Linked DNA regions of Homo sapiens: region 1 is linked to region 2. Evidence: promoter capture Hi-C in human tissues and cell types (Jung and others, 2019). All regions are on one chromosome and are shown on one strand. Each heading gives the region's core, a stretch centred on a gene start or on the middle of the fragment in contact. The rest is flanking DNA. Distances are from core to core; before and after follow the strand shown. Region 1 has its middle 37 kb from the start of GK2. Region 2 holds the start of GK2 (glycerol kinase 2).

The links. Contacts are between HindIII fragments. The study calls those that stand out against the background at their distance.
Region 1: a fragment that was not itself captured here is called in contact with the fragment with the promoter of GK2 in region 2 in 1 of the 25 tissues and cell types used here (bladder).

What each region holds. Positions count from the first base shown.
Region 1 is chr4:79,369,021-79,373,682 of GRCh38, reverse strand. No RefSeq gene overlaps it. Among named protein-coding and RNA genes, the nearest start is that of GK2, 37 kb to the left of the region's middle. The HindIII fragment of the contact is 3,027 bases long and covers 152-3,178 here.
Region 2 is chr4:79,405,968-79,410,467 of GRCh38, reverse strand. GK2 (glycerol kinase 2) reads left to right here and starts at 2,240. Exons shown (of 1, transcript NM_033214.3): 1 at 2,240-4,107. The coding sequence starts at 2,268. The coding sequence ends at 3,929. The HindIII fragment of the contact is 12,605 bases long and covers 813-4,500 here.

The DNA of each region.
Region 1 (4,662 bases), core at 416-2,915, 36 kb after region 2:
AAGCTTATATTATGATGAGAAATACTTTGATTGGAAATAAGAAAGGCCTGGCACATCAGTGAAATAGTTCCTTACATATGGATATTCAAACAGATGCACAAAAATGAATTAATAAAAGAAACAGACTAGGGGGATGAGTAATGACAATTTCAAAATGATTATTAAAAAATGACTATTGGGTAGTTTTGTGGAAAGACAGGCAATCAGGCCAAACAACATGGCATATCCTTCTTACCCGGATAATTCTATGAAACAATTCAACAACTTATCATTAATTTGTCTTAGCATATCAGTAAAGCTTTCTTCTTTTCTTTTCTTTTTTTTCTGGAGATACAGTCTTGCCCTGTCACCCAGGCTGAAGTGCAGTAGTGTGATCTCGGCTCACGGCAACCTCTGCCTCCTGGGTTCAAATGATTATCCTGCCTCAGCCTCCTGAGTAGCTGGGACTACAGGAGCCCAACACCATGTCTGGCTAATTTTTGTATTTTTAGTACAGATGGGATTTCACCATGTTGGGCAGACTGGACTGGAACTCCTGACCTCAAGTGATCAACCAGCCTCAGTCTCCCAAAGTGCTAGAATTACAGACGTGAGCTGCCGTGCCTGGCTGGAGTAAAACAATTTTTTTTACAAAAAATATTCCCTTGGCAATATTGAAAATGTGGATTAAAAGTGTGAGTTACTTCAAAGGCATGAGACATTCATTCATCAATCCATCTATCCTTTTAATCATCCATTCATTCTTCCACTCACCTATCTACTCATCACATTGGAAGGAAAAGAAATACAAAAATAAACCTTGCCTGGATTCCATCTTAAAGAAGATACAACATATCTATAAATAAATGTCAGACAAGATAGAAAATATGTCCTGAGAGATATATTTGTTATTTAAAAAATTTGGTGGAAAAGCAATGACTTCAGGCTGGAAAAAGTCAGAAATGCTTTTATAAAAAAACATAGCCTGTATATTGTAATTTGAAAACTAGATAAGATTTTGACGTGCACAGAAATTTGGAAGATGTTTTATTCTTGTTATTTCTTTAATACCTAACTCACGTATCCTCTGCTCTAGGAAAATTGCCCTCACTCTTTTCTACTTACCATCATAGCTAGACTGAGTCTTAGATTTACATTAAAAAAATGGAATAATTTTAAGGACAAAAACAAACCTATAACTATACATCATGAATTCAGATAAAATATATTATACACATTAGGAATTGAATGCAGTTTAAATTCAGTAAATGTCAACTACTTAACTGAAACACTCCAAATTCTTTCGCTTTGAGGTGTAGCTAGTAGTTCAGAGAACAGATTCTAGAACTTTCAATCTGTATGACTTTGAATTCTAGCTCCAATTCTCACTAGCTTTGCAAACTGAGGTAAGGTGCTTAATCTCCTATACTTCTAATTCTTCACCTATAAGTTAGAGATAATAGTATAATTTTTATAGATTTATTGTGAGGAAAAGATGAGTTAGTATATTTAAATTCTAGTTATTATTATTATATGTATTCAGAAACTATATTCAGTTTTTTACATATAGTTCATGCATTGTATGATTTTAGAGACATTAGTAAGGATCCTTGCCTTAAAAACCACCTTTCCTTGTTTATTTCTTGTTGCCTTAATGTCTACCATCACAGATTCATTTTGTTGCCTTAAATATTCTATGTTTTTCAAAATTTAATTTCTAATTTGAGCTTGAGGAATAGAATAACGTTTTCCTTCTTCTCTAGTTCCTTATATTTTCCTCACCCTTACTTCTAATAGACTTCCTTGAACCAAATAGCTAGAATGATCCTGTTAAAGTAATATAGATTGGCTAGCATTGTGAGACAAACCACCTCGAAACTTAGAGACTTTAAACAACAATGATTTATTATTTCTCATGATTTTGTGAATTAGCTGGTGATATGGTTTGGCTATGTCCCCACCCATATCTCAGCTTGAATTGTATGTCCCAGAATTCTCATGTGTTGTGGGAGGGACTCGGGGGGATGTAATTGAGCCGTGGGGGCCAGTCTTTCTCATGCTACTCTCATGATAGTGAATAAGTCTCATGAGATCTGATGGGTTTATCAGGGGTTTCCGCTTTTGCTTCCTCCTCATTTTTTCCTTGTTGCCACCAAGGAACAAGTGCCTTTTGCCTCCCACCATGATTCTGAGGCCCCTCCCAGCCATGTGGAACTGTAAGTCCAATTAAACCTCTTTTTGTTCCCAGTTTCGGGTATGTCTTTATCAGCAGCATGAAAATGAACTAATACAGTTGGGCTATTCTTTTGCTAGTTTTATCTAGACTTACTCTTGCATTCAGCCGGAAGCTAAGCTGGGCTAGAAGATCCAAGGTGGCCTCACAGGTCTGGTAATTGGTTTGGCTCTTGGCTGGGAAAACTAAGTTCTCTACACATTGTAATAAAATTTTAATGAAAAGAGCTGTAAAATAATGCAGCCATGTTTTTCAGTCTACCTCAGTCCACCCTCCAATTATGATGACTTCCATTCCTCACCCATGCAAAACATTGCTCATCCTTCCCCTCCAACTCTCCTCTCATTACAGAATCAGACAGAAACCCCACTATCTCACAATCTACATCTAGTTCAGATATAGGCACAACTTCTTGGCTGCATTTATGTGGGTCCAGAGAGCTGTTTTCTAGAGACTAATTATTAAGATATCCATCATACAATGATTAGAGAGAAACTAGAGAACTCCATTAGACAGTCCCCTTCAAAGGGAATAACAGAAAGCACACAGAACACCTAACTTGAAGCAATTCTACGGTACAGCTGGACATATGCTTCCAGCTCCCAAGAAAATATGGTAGGTCCAAGATGGCTTCTGGGATGCCATCATTCCCCTTCATGTGGCTTCTCATCCTCCAAATAGCCAGACTACCTTCAGTACATGGTGATCTCAAGGTAGCATCCAAAGTGAGCAAAAGGAAAAGATGCCTCTTGAGACTTAGCCTTGAAAATTAAATAACATCACTTTTGCCAGATTGAAGCCTTGCATTGATGATTATGCAATTTTCACTGAGATCCAAATTCATCCTTCTATACTCTGCTTTGTTGTAATGATGGAGGTGGGACTGAGCAGATGATGTTTGACTTTGCCAGTGGAGTCAGAGATAACAGAGAGAGACTGCAAAATTGGAGAAAGGAAAGTGGACTTGCTTCTCCCAATTTGGTCCCTATATTCTTGTGGTTCATGTGAGTGCATCACTGCATCATCACTTCTTCACACCCAGTAGCAGGTCCTTCTCATGGCAGGAACCTAATCTAGTTGATCATTTTCTCAACACATGGTACTGATCTGGTCAGGATCCCTCAGCGACTCTGACAAAAGCTGGCCAACATTCCTTCCTCAGAGGTTTGATTTGTTTTGCTTCATGGTACACTTCCTCTAACTTGCTAAATTGAAATATTCTAATCTCTTTTGACCACCCCTAAGGGACGTAGCTGCTTCCTACCTCACTGATAATTTAGTGTTCTCTTTTTTATTGAATGACCTACTTAACACTTTTATACTTAGTTATAAACATTTATTTATATTCAATTATCTCAAGTAACTAGGTTTCCACCTCCAGAATGGACTCTGAATGATATGATTCCATCTCTTGCTAGGAAGAGCTACAAAATATTGTGGTTGTGTTCTTCATTCTACCACAAATGGTGAGACAAATCATGATATTTCTTTCTTTAAACTCTCCAAGGCCTTTTCATCTCATTCAGAGTAAAAGCTCAAGTCCTCTCGAAGGCCACAATGGCCTCCTTGCTGCCCTTTGAACATGTTATACTCCTGCCATAGAGATTTCATGTTTGATTTTCCATCTGCCTGGAAGATTCTTTCCCCAGATGGCTATAGGGCCCACTTTCTTATCCTCTCAAGTCATTGCTCAAATGTCACTTTCTCCCTAAAGCCTCTCTTGACCACCTTATTTAAAATTGAAGCAATCCCTCCCAACCAATATCTAGTACCCCCTATTTCTCTTTCTTCTTTCATTTTTTTCCATAGTGTGTATAATCAGTTAACTTATTTTACAATTTATTTACTGCCATCCTCCACTTCTCCCAACCTTAGAATTTAAGGGACAATATTTTTAACTGTTTTTTTTTCTATGCTGTTGCACCCAGACTTAAGAAAAGGGTTTATCATAGAAGAGATTCTCAGTAAGTTTATAAAGAAGTTGCTCTTCAGACTTATTGAATTAAGATTATTTTCCAGTATAGTCATGTGTCACATAACAACTTTTCAGTTAACAGCAAACTGCATATAAAATGGTGTTCCTGTAAGATTATAATTCTGCATGTTTAAAGTACCTTTCCTATGTTTAGATATGTTTTAATACACAAATACTTACCATTGTGTTACAATTGCCTACAATACTCAGTACGGTAACATGCCAATACTCAGTATATAACATGCCTAGGTTTGCAGTCTAGGCACAATAGGCTATACCATATAGTCTAGGTGTGTAGTAGGCTAGACCATCTATCTAGGTTTGTGTAAGTGCACTCTATGATGTTTGCACTACAACACAATTTCCCAATGATGCATTTCACAGAATGTGTCCCTGTCATTAAGTGATGCATGACGTACATTAAATTATAAACACTGCAATGCAAATGAGTTTATAAGAGCTTCTTCTTAAAGTC
Region 2 (4,500 bases), core at 991-3,490:
TGCTTGGAAAAGCTTTGATAGAATTTTAGAAACAAAGACACAACCAGGAAAATCTGATCCAGTTTTTAATAATTTCTATACCTTACTTCGCAAATTAAGTCTCAATGTTCTTTCTTTCTCAGACTTCATAGTATTTCCTGAAGGGTTTTTGCTTAAATAAAAAATACGACCCAGATAAAATAGTGAAATAACAATATCACAGTTAATTTTTATGTTATTTTCTATCTTGTTCTATTTGGTTTTACTAAACACAAATGGGCCTTATCCTTGAGCTAATTCAGAAATGTAGCCTATGCCCTAATACAAAAAATTGCCATTCATTGACTGCATATTCAATATATTTTAATTAATGATTAAATAAGTCTTTATTCACCGACTCTATAGTTAATCTGAAAATTTAAGTTTCCATTTAGTGGAATTCCACTCTGGCCAAGATGTAGTAAAAAGGATTGGAGTTACCTTTTCATCTAAAACAATCAAAAATGGAAAAAATAGATGAAATAGTTCACATAATGTGCAAAATATAAAACAACAGTTCACAAAATGCTGGATATCACGGAATGAAAGGCAGTAATTTCTAAGAGATTAAAAACAAGTGACATGACTACTATGATTTCCCCAGCTTAGTTTCTTGAGAGAGTTTTGAAGCAACAGCACAGACAGGGAACCCAATTGAAACTCAGTGGAAACCTATGGCAAGGAGATTAGGCTGAGAGCCTAGAGAAACCAAAGAAGCTAGACTCTGCCAGGCATAGCACTGGAGAAAAAAGAGTTGCATAGAGAGAGAACTCCAGAGAGCTTTAGAGGGTCCCCCAGTGAGTATTCAGTTGGGTATTGATCAGTGCATGTATAGGAGAAAACTACTGAGGCTAACGAAAGATGCACCTGGAAAGACTAGAGATAACAGTATCCAGTGGTCACTCAGGGCTGGGAGGAATTACTGTTCCAAACAGCCTCATTTGTCAGGGGTGTTGGGTAGAGTACATAGAAAGATCTCTTCACAGTAAAGAGGAAGAATTAGCCCCAGACTGAGTACTATCCTTGTGCCATCTAAGAAATCTTAAAAGCAGACGCAAAAGAATTGAACTGTTTCCAAGTAATTTATCTGCATCCCAAAACAAAACTCAAGACCATTTATAGGGATACAAAAATATCAAGCACCCAGTCAGGTAAAAGTCACAATGTTTGGCATCTAATTAAAACTTATCAGGCATGCAAAGAAACAGGAAATACAAGCCATAATGAGGAGATAAGCAATCAATCAAAACCGAACCAGAACTGACACAGAGGTTAGAATTGCAGAAAATGAAATTAAAAGTTATTCTAACTGTATTCCATGTGTTCAGAAAGTTAAGTAGATATTAAAAAACCCAAATTGAGCTTCTAGGGATGAACACTACAATATGTGAGGTGAAAAATGTACTGGATGAATTAATAGCAGAGCAGACATTGGAGAAGAAAAGATTAGTGAACTTGAAGAGAGAGCAACAGAAACTATCTGAAATCAAGGACAAGGAGAAAAGGTAATTATAATGAGTAGGGCATCAATGGAGTCCCTAAGGGATAGAAGAGACAGAATAAAACACATTTGAAGAAATAATGGGCCCAAAGCTTTTCAAAGTCGATGAAACCTGTAAACCTACAGATTCAAGTAGCTCAGTAAACCCCAAGCAAAGAAAATAAGAAAACTATTCCAAGACACTTCATGATAAAACTGGGCAAAACCACTGATAAAGAGCAAAACCCTAAAGATAGAGAAAAATAGACATGTTAAAAATAATAGCAAAGTTCCACCTGAAACAGCAAGAGAGACGATGGTAGAGCAACAGCTCCAAGGTCCTGAAACTTAAAAAGAAAAAATATGTCAAATAGAATTCTATACCCCGAGAAAATACCTTTGAATATTACTATGAAATATATTTCAGATGTTCAAATTTGGAAGAATTCATCTCCAGCAGACCTGCACTATTAAGAAGGAAAATGATAACGTAGAGATATAGATCCACACAAAAGAGTGAACGCCGGTAACTGTAATTACATGGATAAATATATGATTTAAAAAAAAAAATTAAATCTTAGAAGACAACTGAGTGGCTGGAGGTGAAGCCTGGGCTGGAGGGGTGGGGTGAGAAGGCGCCGCGCCAGTTAAAGGGCAAAGGTTGCCTTGCGCCTGCGCCTTGTGCTCCTGACTGGCTGCGCTCCCTGCCCCCAACACCGCCGTGGCCTGGGAAACGGTCCCAGAGCTGCTGAGCCGACCTACTGGTGTCATGGCAGCCCCAAAGACAGCAGCTGTGGGGCCGTTGGTGGGAGCGGTGGTCCAGGGCACCAACTCCACTCGCTTTCTGGTTTTCAATTCAAAAACAGCGGAACTACTTAGTCATCACAAAGTGGAATTAACACAAGAGTTCCCAAAAGAAGGATGGGTGGAACAAGACCCTAAAGAAATTCTTCAGTCTGTCTACGAGTGTATAGCGAGAACGTGTGAGAAACTTGACGAACTGAATATTGATATATCCAACATAAAAGCTGTTGGTGTCAGCAATCAGAGGGAAACCACTGTAATCTGGGACAAGTTAACAGGAGAGCCTCTCTACAATGCTGTGGTGTGGCTTGATCTAAGAACCCAGACTACTGTTGAGGATCTTAGTAAAAAAATTCCAGGAAATAGTAACTTCGTCAAGTCTAAGACAGGCCTTCCACTCAGCACTTACTTCAGTGCAGTAAAACTTCGTTGGATGCTTGACAATGTGAGAAACGTCCAAAAGGCTGTTGAAGAAGGTAGAGCTCTTTTTGGTACCATTGATTCATGGCTTATCTGGAGTTTGACAGGAGGAGTTAATGGAGGCGTGCATTGTACAGATGTAACAAATGCAAGTAGGACAATGCTTTTTAATATCCATTCTTTGGAATGGGATAAAGAGCTCTGTGACTTTTTTGAAATTCCAATGGACCTTCTTCCAAATGTCTTCAGTTCTTCTGAGATCTATGGCCTAATTAAAACTGGAGCCCTGGAAGGTGTGCCAATATCTGGGTGTTTGGGGGACCAATGTGCTGCATTAGTAGGACAAATGTGCTTCCAGGAGGGACAAGCCAAAAACACCTATGGAACAGGTTGCTTCTTACTGTGTAATACGGGTCGTAAATGTGTGTTTTCTGAACATGGCCTTTTGACCACAGTAGCTTACAAACTAGGCAGAGAGAAGCCAGCATATTATGCACTGGAAGGTTCTGTTGCTATAGCAGGTGCTGTTATTCGTTGGCTAAGAGACAATCTTGGAATTATAGAGACCTCAGGAGACATTGAAAGACTTGCTAAAGAAGTAGGAACTTCTTATGGCTGTTACTTTGTCCCAGCCTTTTCAGGGTTATATGCACCTTATTGGGAGCCCAGTGCAAGAGGGATACTCTGTGGCCTCACTCAGTTTACCAATAAATGTCATATTGCTTTTGCTGCATTAGAAGCTGTTTGTTTCCAAACCCGAGAGATTTTGGAAGCCATGAACCGTGACTGTGGAATTCCACTTCGTCATTTGCAGGTAGATGGAGGAATGACCAACAACAAAGTTCTTATGCAGCTACAAGCAGATATTCTTCATATTCCAGTAATAAAACCCTTTATGCCTGAAACAACTGCACTAGGAGCTGCCATGGCAGCAGGGGCTGCAGAGGGAGTAAGCGTTTGGAGCCTTGAACCCCAGGCTTTGTCAGTTCTCAGGATGGAACGATTTGAACCACAGATCCAGGCCACAGAAAGTGAAATTCGTTATGCCACATGGAAGAAAGCCGTAATGAAGTCAATGGGTTGGGTTACCAGTCAGTCTCCTGAAGGTGGTGATCCTTCTATCTTCTCTAGTCTGCCTTTGGGATTTTTTATAGTGAGTAGCATGGTAATGCTAATTGGAGCAAGATATATCTCGGGTGTGCCATAATAATACCAGCTATGGAGTCCCAAGATGTAAACATTTTACATAATGAAAGCATATAGCAGTTCTGCCTCTTAATATAATGACACTATTATAGACTCTGATTTTGTTTATAAACCACTTGCTACATGACCCATGAAAACCCTAGACTTGTGACCTGAAATAAAGAAAATACGTTAGAAGAGCACTGTAGAAATATTGGGTGTGTTTTTTTTAACATCGACAGGGTTGGGCCAGCCATCTTGAAGGCTGGCCCCCTCCATTGCCATAACATTCTGCCCCATTCTTTCTAAAACATAGGCTATTCAGATTCTATTCATGGAATCTTTTTATCAACTATCCTCTAACACTTATGGACCCAGATTTGGTTCTTTGTGTTACACACACTTGATTAAGAGGTGTAATTAATCTGCTAAAATTAAGGGACTTTTTGTCATTGTTATTCTTGTTTTTAATAGGCTACAAGTCCTCCTTTCTACATATTAGAGAGACTACATCTTAACTGAATGTTTAATGGAAATATTTGCTAAATTCTTACAATAGAAATTTAGTATTCTCATAGCTTAGATATTTTCCT